2 separate regions of the Homo sapiens genome follow, and region 2 is linked to region 1. Evidence: promoter capture Hi-C in 16 types of primary human blood cells and fetal thymus (Javierre and others, 2016). All regions are on one chromosome and are shown on one strand. Each heading gives the region's core, a stretch centred on a gene start or on the middle of the fragment in contact. The rest is flanking DNA. Distances are from core to core; before and after follow the strand shown. Region 1 holds the start of SNX16 (sorting nexin 16). Region 2 holds the start of RPL7 (ribosomal protein L7).

Region 1 (3,329 bases), core at 329-2,828:
GCTACATAGTATAATTCTATAGAACCCAGGATTAAAAATACACACTTGGTCAAGTTACTCAAATAAAACCCAGTGAACACTGAACTTATATGCAACAAAATTAAATAGTGAAAATTGTAACCGTTCTTCACAGCTTACAGGTCATCACTAATTCTGCTCTACGATAAACTGAGGGTATTTAAATCTTTATAACTTACACTCAAGAATCTGTTATCAAACGGACCAGTATATCTTGTGTCAGAATAGTATCATAACACAAAGAAGAAATGGTTTACTATTACTTTGTTAAATAATAAACTCATAAGAAACTGTAACAACTACAGACCAACAAAATGACAAGACTACACACAACAATAACTGCCCAACTTTTCATACGAAACTCTACTGGTGGGAAAGGTAAGAAATGAGTCACCTGGACTTGGAAAGATGCTGAAATAAGATTTTTAACTCTGGGCTGGGCGCTGTGGCTCACGCCTGTAATCCCAGCACTTTGGGAGGATGAAGCGGGTGGATCGCCTGAGGTCAGGAGTTCGAGGCTAGCCTGGCCAACATGGTGAAACCCCGTCTCTACTAAAAATACAAAAATTAGCCGGGCATGGTGGCGCAGGCCTATAATCCCAGCTACTTGGGAGGCTGAGGCAGGAGAATCGCTTGAACCCGGGAGGCGGAGGTTGCAGTTTGCCGAGATCGTGCCATTGCACTCCAGCCTGGGCTACAAGAGGAAAACTCCGTCTCAAAAAAAAAAAAAAAAAAGATTTTTAACTCAAGTGGCTCTCGGCAACATTTCCCCATTATCAAAGATTCATGAAACTTTAGCTGCTGATTCACCGCTCCTCGGTTCCGCCTGACGGCCTCCCCAAAAACAAGTAAGTCTGAAATCTCAACCTTCTCAAGGTCCGAGGGATCTACCTGGCCTTTGCCACTCTACTACCTGAGGCCGCCTGGCTGGGGGGAGGTCGCATATCAATACATATCAACACAACCACTGACGTCCGAAGATGTGAGCGCTACCCAAGCGTTAAAAAAACAAAACAAGCAAACAAACAAACAAAAAAACGTGCTGTGCTCATTAGGAGCGTCTTCGCCTCTACCCTGATGCGGAGTTGCTCCCAGGACGCTCAGTTCATTCTCACTCTGGAAAACCTCAGGTGAGGTGGCCCGACTCTGAGCAACCCCGTGGGCGGGAGGAAAGAGGCAAATACCAGGCACAGTTCGACCCTCGGAAGGTAAGGCCGGGGTCTGCGCCGGTCACGGGTCTTCCGCACTGCAGGCGGCGAGACCCGCAGCTCCCTGGGATCACAGACTCTCCCGCCTCCGCTGACCGGTGCGCGCCCAGCGCCTCCCAGACGCACAGTGGGGTCGGCGGTGGCCTGAAGGTGGCTGGGCTTCCTGCGGCGCCTCTCCACTCTCCCGCGGAGCCCCTTGCCGCCCGCCAGACATCAAGGTTGCAGGTGTCACCCGTACGAGAACCCGGGACAGCGACCGCCTGTCCTGAGGTAATGACCCAGTCTTTACCTCAGCCCCCTCGGCGATCCCGAACGAGCGCGCTTCCCGGTGACGGTTAAACCGGACTCTCCTTAACCGCAGCTTTTCGCCTCCTCCCTCAGCAGCGAGAAGCCTCACGTGACACCCCCGCCCCAAAAGCAGCTGCTCCCCGCCTCAGCCAGTCTCTGCCCGGGCCCAAGATCCCTGCTGTGTGGAAGGAGGGGCCGAACTGGGCGGGGGGGGGGGGGGGGGGAGAGAGAGAGAGAGAGAGGGAGGGAGGGAGGGAGGGAGGGAGAGAGAGAGAGAGAGAGAGAGAGAGAGAGAGAGAGAGACAGAGACAGAGAGAAAGAGAGAGAGAGAGGGCAAGAGCGAGAGACAGAGAGAGAGAGAGAGAGAGAGAGAGAGAGAGAGAGAGAGAGAGAGAGAGAGAGAGAAAGAGAAAGAAAACGAGCGAGGGAGAGAGCGAGAGCGAGAGAGAGAGAGAGAGAGCGTCACACACACATCTCTGCCGGAAGTGATGTCACGGCATGGGCGCCCGCCCACCGGAGGAGCGACTGGAGTTGATCGGCTGGGCGCTCAGGTAGCGAAGATAAATGTAATCTTGTGGCAGGAAATCGACATTCTCTGCACTATCTTTAGTTTTCCAACTGAACTTCTGAGAAATGGAGGCTACAATACCTAGTTTGCCAAACAGGAGAAGACTACAATTCCCAGAAGGAACTGCGACCAACATTGGTCCGTGCTCATACTTTGCATCATGGGACTTGTAGTCATCACCAGCTTGCGCTGATTCTAACAGGTTATAGATTGTTTTCTAGAATTAGCAGCGCTTTAAGGGATGACAATCGATTAGAAGAGTAGGAAGATAGAACACTGCTTAGTAGCTGATCCGTTCTACATAATTCAGAAGTTCTCATTGGCAGAGAACCCCTGAAATTCTGTAGTGTCTTTTTACTATCCGGTGAGCAATTTGATCCCGATGATGGAATATTAGCCTTGTTAGACATGCGCTTCTGAAGACCTGTGCAGTAGGGAAAGCCGAGTTTTTTGATAGGCAAATCCCAAGATTCAGACCGGTCTACAGGTCTGTTCATCATTAGAATCAGATAATGTGGTTGAAAAATCATTCCACGATTTCTAAGGCTTTTGTATAGTCCCAATGTTACCCATGGAGGGTCTTGACTACAAGTCATCCAGGTTCTTGGTTTTTTTAACAAAGAATTGGACAAAACGCACAAAGAAAGCAAGGAAAGAATGAAGCAAGGAAAGCAGAGATTGAAATGACTGTACACTCCACAGAGTGGGAATGGCCTCCAGCCAGTGGCTCAAGAGCCCTGGTTACAGGATTTTCTGGAGTTTAAATATCCGCTAGAGATTTCCCATTGGTTACTTGGTTTACACCCTCTGTAAATTAAGGAGTAGCCTGCAACCAATCAGAGGCTAAAGTTAAGTTACAAAGTTGTACTCCTATGGAAATGAAGACTAGGCCCAGATACCAAGGGCCTAGAAGGTTGGGCAGGGGGTTGCAAAGGGAATAGCCTCTGGTCTTTTTGTTACTTGGGCTTGGAAAGTTGGAGTTTTCCTTTTGATTTAGTTCTAGGAAGTCAGCGTGAATGGGCCTTAGGTTCCCTGCCTCCGGACCCTATTCTACTGCCCGACTAAGAGTGAGAAAAGGTGATAGTGGTCATTTTGAAATGAAGGTTGGAAAATAGTCTGGTTTGTGACATGATGATGGTTTTGGTTTAAGAGATTCTGCCCTTTTAGTGTGAATGAAATAAAAATAGAATTCTGTAGAAACAATGTTAGGTAGGAGAATAGGGTCTGGAAACAGGGGACCTAAGGCT
Region 2 (3,294 bases), core at 297-2,796, 8.5 Mb before region 1:
CAACTAAACCATTAGTGATCAGCACCCTCCTTGTTCTAGCTTCCCCTAAAATATTGTTACTCCGGTGTTTCAGAATCAGGGCTCCCAGAAGTAATGTGAAGGTTTTTTTTTTTTTTCCCATTCAAACCCGAATGCAGTAAAACTGAACTTACCCTCTGATTCTGATGACAAACGCCAATTTGGGTTCTGCAGGTACATAGAAGTTGCCAGCTTTTCTTGCCATCCTCGCCATTCGAATTTCAGTTCTGTACATCTGCCTATATTCCTTGTGATAGTGCTTTGCTTTTTCATAGATAAGCTTCCTCCTTGCCTTTCGAAGCTGAAAACCAATAATCAGTTATTCATAATTTTTAGCTCAATCACAATTAGCAATGCCAATCATTAAAAAGAAAACTACAACATGTTTCCTTTAAATCTTTTCTTGCCACAGTATGCAATTACATCCCCCACCAAAAAACCCCACTACCTTCAGATTGTAACATTAGGTAGCTAAGCAATTACTCAGTACAGTTAGGAAGTAAATCTTGCCAAGAACATTCACCTCATCCTCAATCCCAATAAGGCGCCTCCTTATGTGCTAGTGCCTCAAAAAGTTTACTTACCATCTTTTGGGCAAACTTCTTTCTCAGGCGCTTGATCTTCAGCTCTGCGAAATTCCTTCGCTTTTTCTTAAGGGTTTCTGGCACAGCAGGAACCTCCTTCTTCTTCTCTCTAACGTTAATAAACAAAAATGTTATCAATAGCTCAAAAAGCTCACAGCGCTGTATTACTCCCGTACTGAGCAGTGTTGTTTACCAGAAATGCTGTCACTGACTTTAGTCACTAGTAACTTTACTTGCTCTGGCATGCTACAGTGTACGATGCATATTTTAGCTCCATGTCAATAACCTTTAACACCATGTTGCCTAAAACGCAATCACAAATATGACAATAGCAATACGTTTTTCCCTATTTCAACCAAGAGGCCCGGCCTCCGACGACTAATTAAAAAAAAAAACAAAAAAAACACACCAACACCCGAATAACAAAATGTACTAGCTGAAAGACTACTGCAAGGCACTGACCCCGAGACTTTAAGCGCAAAAATTAAAAAATAAAAATAAAAAAAAAACAAGCCACCACCACTCTGGTTCAATCAGGATCCACATGTTGAAAGCAAAGGCCTGGCGGCAGGGAGGCCTGTACCAAGCACCAGCCAAGGACGAACACAATTCAGAGGTTCTGCGCCTCCCCCGAAAGACCCTCTACCGAGGACTGGGCCGTCAGCCAACCGACGGGTTCCACACACATTCCAACCCGACATCTCGTTCCCGGGATCTCCAAAACCTCCGTCCTAAGACCGCCCGCATCCCAACCCTAGCCTCAGGTCCCCACTGGTGTCACACAGCGTTCACAATCAAGCAGGGAGGTGGGCAAAGGTGCAAGCTACGGCCAGAGAGAGAAAAAGTGACACAAAAAGTATCTGGCTCTGGAGATGGAGAAGGATTCTCAAGAGGACCAGAAGCAACTCACTCTACACCCTCCATGGTTCCAGCCGGAAAAAGAGGAAGTTGGCGCATGCGTACTGTCCACTTAAAGACTTCGCGAGAGAAGCCCCACGACTCATAGGTGTCTTAGAATAAGCCGGAAAAGAATCCAGAACTAAAAAGCCGCCTTGCAGACGCAAAGAACTCCCTGATTTAGCCTCTTTCAACAAACTTTCGGGTAAAACTTGTTTGAAGAAAATATATGCATTTGATTAGACTTTTTAATCAATTCAAGAGCAAAGAGTGCTGACACCTTGGCAACTCCGGGTCCTAATCCCCAGGCTGCGCTGACAGGATTAGGCTCCGTTCCTCCCCATAATGTTCCCAGGACGAGCCTCATGGGGACGAACTACAAATCCCAGCATGCACCAGTCTTCGCCCGCCCGGCGGGAGGGCAACGGCTGACCAGGACCGCAGGCAAGCACCGCGGCGACGGTTCCAGCCAGGAAAATGAGAGCCTCTTGGGCCACGTTCCAAACGGCTAGCTGCAATTCGAAGTCACTTTTGGCCGCCCTCCCGGCTCCCTGCCGCGGTAGTCGCAGACTACACCCCTTTCGCCGCTCCGCGAGGTCCTTGTCGTCGCTCCAGCCCACAGGGCTGTCTTCCGCAGCGCCTGATCGCAGGCGGGGCGGTCTGGAGTGCTCTAGCTTACGAAAAGTGGCTAGCCAGGGACCAGTGGGGACCGGACGGCCGGAGGAGGATGGCCGGGGCTCTGCTGACTGCCGAGCTCGGCAGGCGGAGGCCAGGACACCCCACGGGAGGGGGCGTGAGCTGCGAAGGGAGGTGCGAGGAGGGCTGAGGTTGCGGCCACGGCCGTGTGAGAGGGGCTACCCGGCTCGGCTCCGCGGACGGCTGGCGGGCTGGGGGCTGGGCCGGGGGCGGGGTGCGCCCGGGGGCGGGGAGGCCGGGCGGAGGGAGGGCCGATGCCGAGGCTGGCGCGGGCTCTTCCCGGTCGCGGGGTTATATAGCGCGGAGCGTGGAGCCCGCTCAGAGCCGGCCCGGAGCGCTCTGACTTGCAAGCGGGCTGCGCTGCGGAGCCCAGTGCCCGAGTGACACCCGCGGAGAGTGCAGGGCCGGGGAACGCGAGCCCTCGGGGGCAGCTGCAAGGCGTTGGGCAGCGCTTGCCTGCGCCGAGCGAGTCTCCCCTTCCCGGCGCTCCGCCGCCCCGCACCCCACTCTCCCACCCTCTCGCAACTTGGGTCGAGTTGACAACTCCCGCGGCAGCCCGCTGGCCCGTGCCGCCTCCGCTGCGCACCCCTCCCCCGGGGTGAGAGGGAGCCGGCGCGCCGGTTCCGGGGACGCTCGGGCGGCAGCAGCTTGGCCATGAGGGCAGTTCGAGTAGTCTAACTCGCGGCTGTCACCGCCACTGCAGCGGAGCCGGCCGGCCGGGCGCTGCGGGACGGGCGGGCGGCTGCCGGCAGGAGGCGCCGAGCCGGGTGACTGCCGCGGCGGGCACAGTCCGGGGCCACAGCGCCGAGCCCGGGCGGGAGTGGCCCCGCGCAGGCAGGGAGCGGCGCCGCGCACTCCAACCCGGCGGGCACCTCGGGGGCGGGCGCGGGGCGCAGCCTTCTCGTCCCGGCCTCTGTGACAAGCGCCCCGGAGCCGGGAGCCCGATTGCCGGGCTCGGGGTGGGCGCGGACGCAGGCACTGGGCTCGTGCGGGGCCCCGGGCGTCGCGATGAACATCGTGGTGGAGTTCTTCGTGGTCACTTTCAAAGTGCTCTGGGCGTTCGTGCTGGCCGCGGCGCGCTGGCTGGTGCGGCCCAAGG

What was found. The method cuts DNA at HindIII sites, captures the fragments that hold promoters and counts their contacts. A CHiCAGO score of 5 or more calls a contact.
Region 2: a contact is called between the fragment with the promoter of RPL7 here and the fragment with the promoter of SNX16 in region 1, in 4 of 17 cell types (total B cells, total CD4 T cells, total CD8 T cells and 1 more). The highest score is 6.7, in total B cells.

What each region holds. Positions count from the first base shown.
Region 1 is chr8:81,840,607-81,843,935 of GRCh38, forward strand. SNX16 (sorting nexin 16) reads right to left here and starts at 1,579. Exons shown (of 8, transcript NM_152836.3): 1 at 1,516-1,579. LINC02235 (long intergenic non-protein coding RNA 2235) reads left to right here and starts at 2,013. Exons shown (of 8, transcript NR_170320.1): 1 at 2,013-2,065. RefSeq lists enhancers at 653-1,585, 1,513-1,562, 1,994-2,263 and a silencer at 1,133-1,182. The HindIII fragment of the contact is 7,243 bases long and covers 1-3,329 here.
Region 2 is chr8:73,292,087-73,295,380 of GRCh38, forward strand. It overlaps RPL7 (ribosomal protein L7), which reads right to left and starts at 1,547. Exons shown (of 7, transcript NM_000971.4): 1 at 1,513-1,547; 2 at 603-711; 3 at 153-319. The coding sequence starts at 1,526. It overlaps RDH10 (retinol dehydrogenase 10), which reads left to right and starts at 2,516. Exons shown (of 6, transcript NM_172037.5): 1 at 2,516-3,294. The coding sequence starts at 3,204. RefSeq lists enhancers at 799-1,507, 1,129-1,178, 1,189-1,548, 1,508-2,215, 1,669-2,158 and a silencer at 2,249-3,208. The HindIII fragment of the contact is 6,100 bases long and covers 297-3,294 here.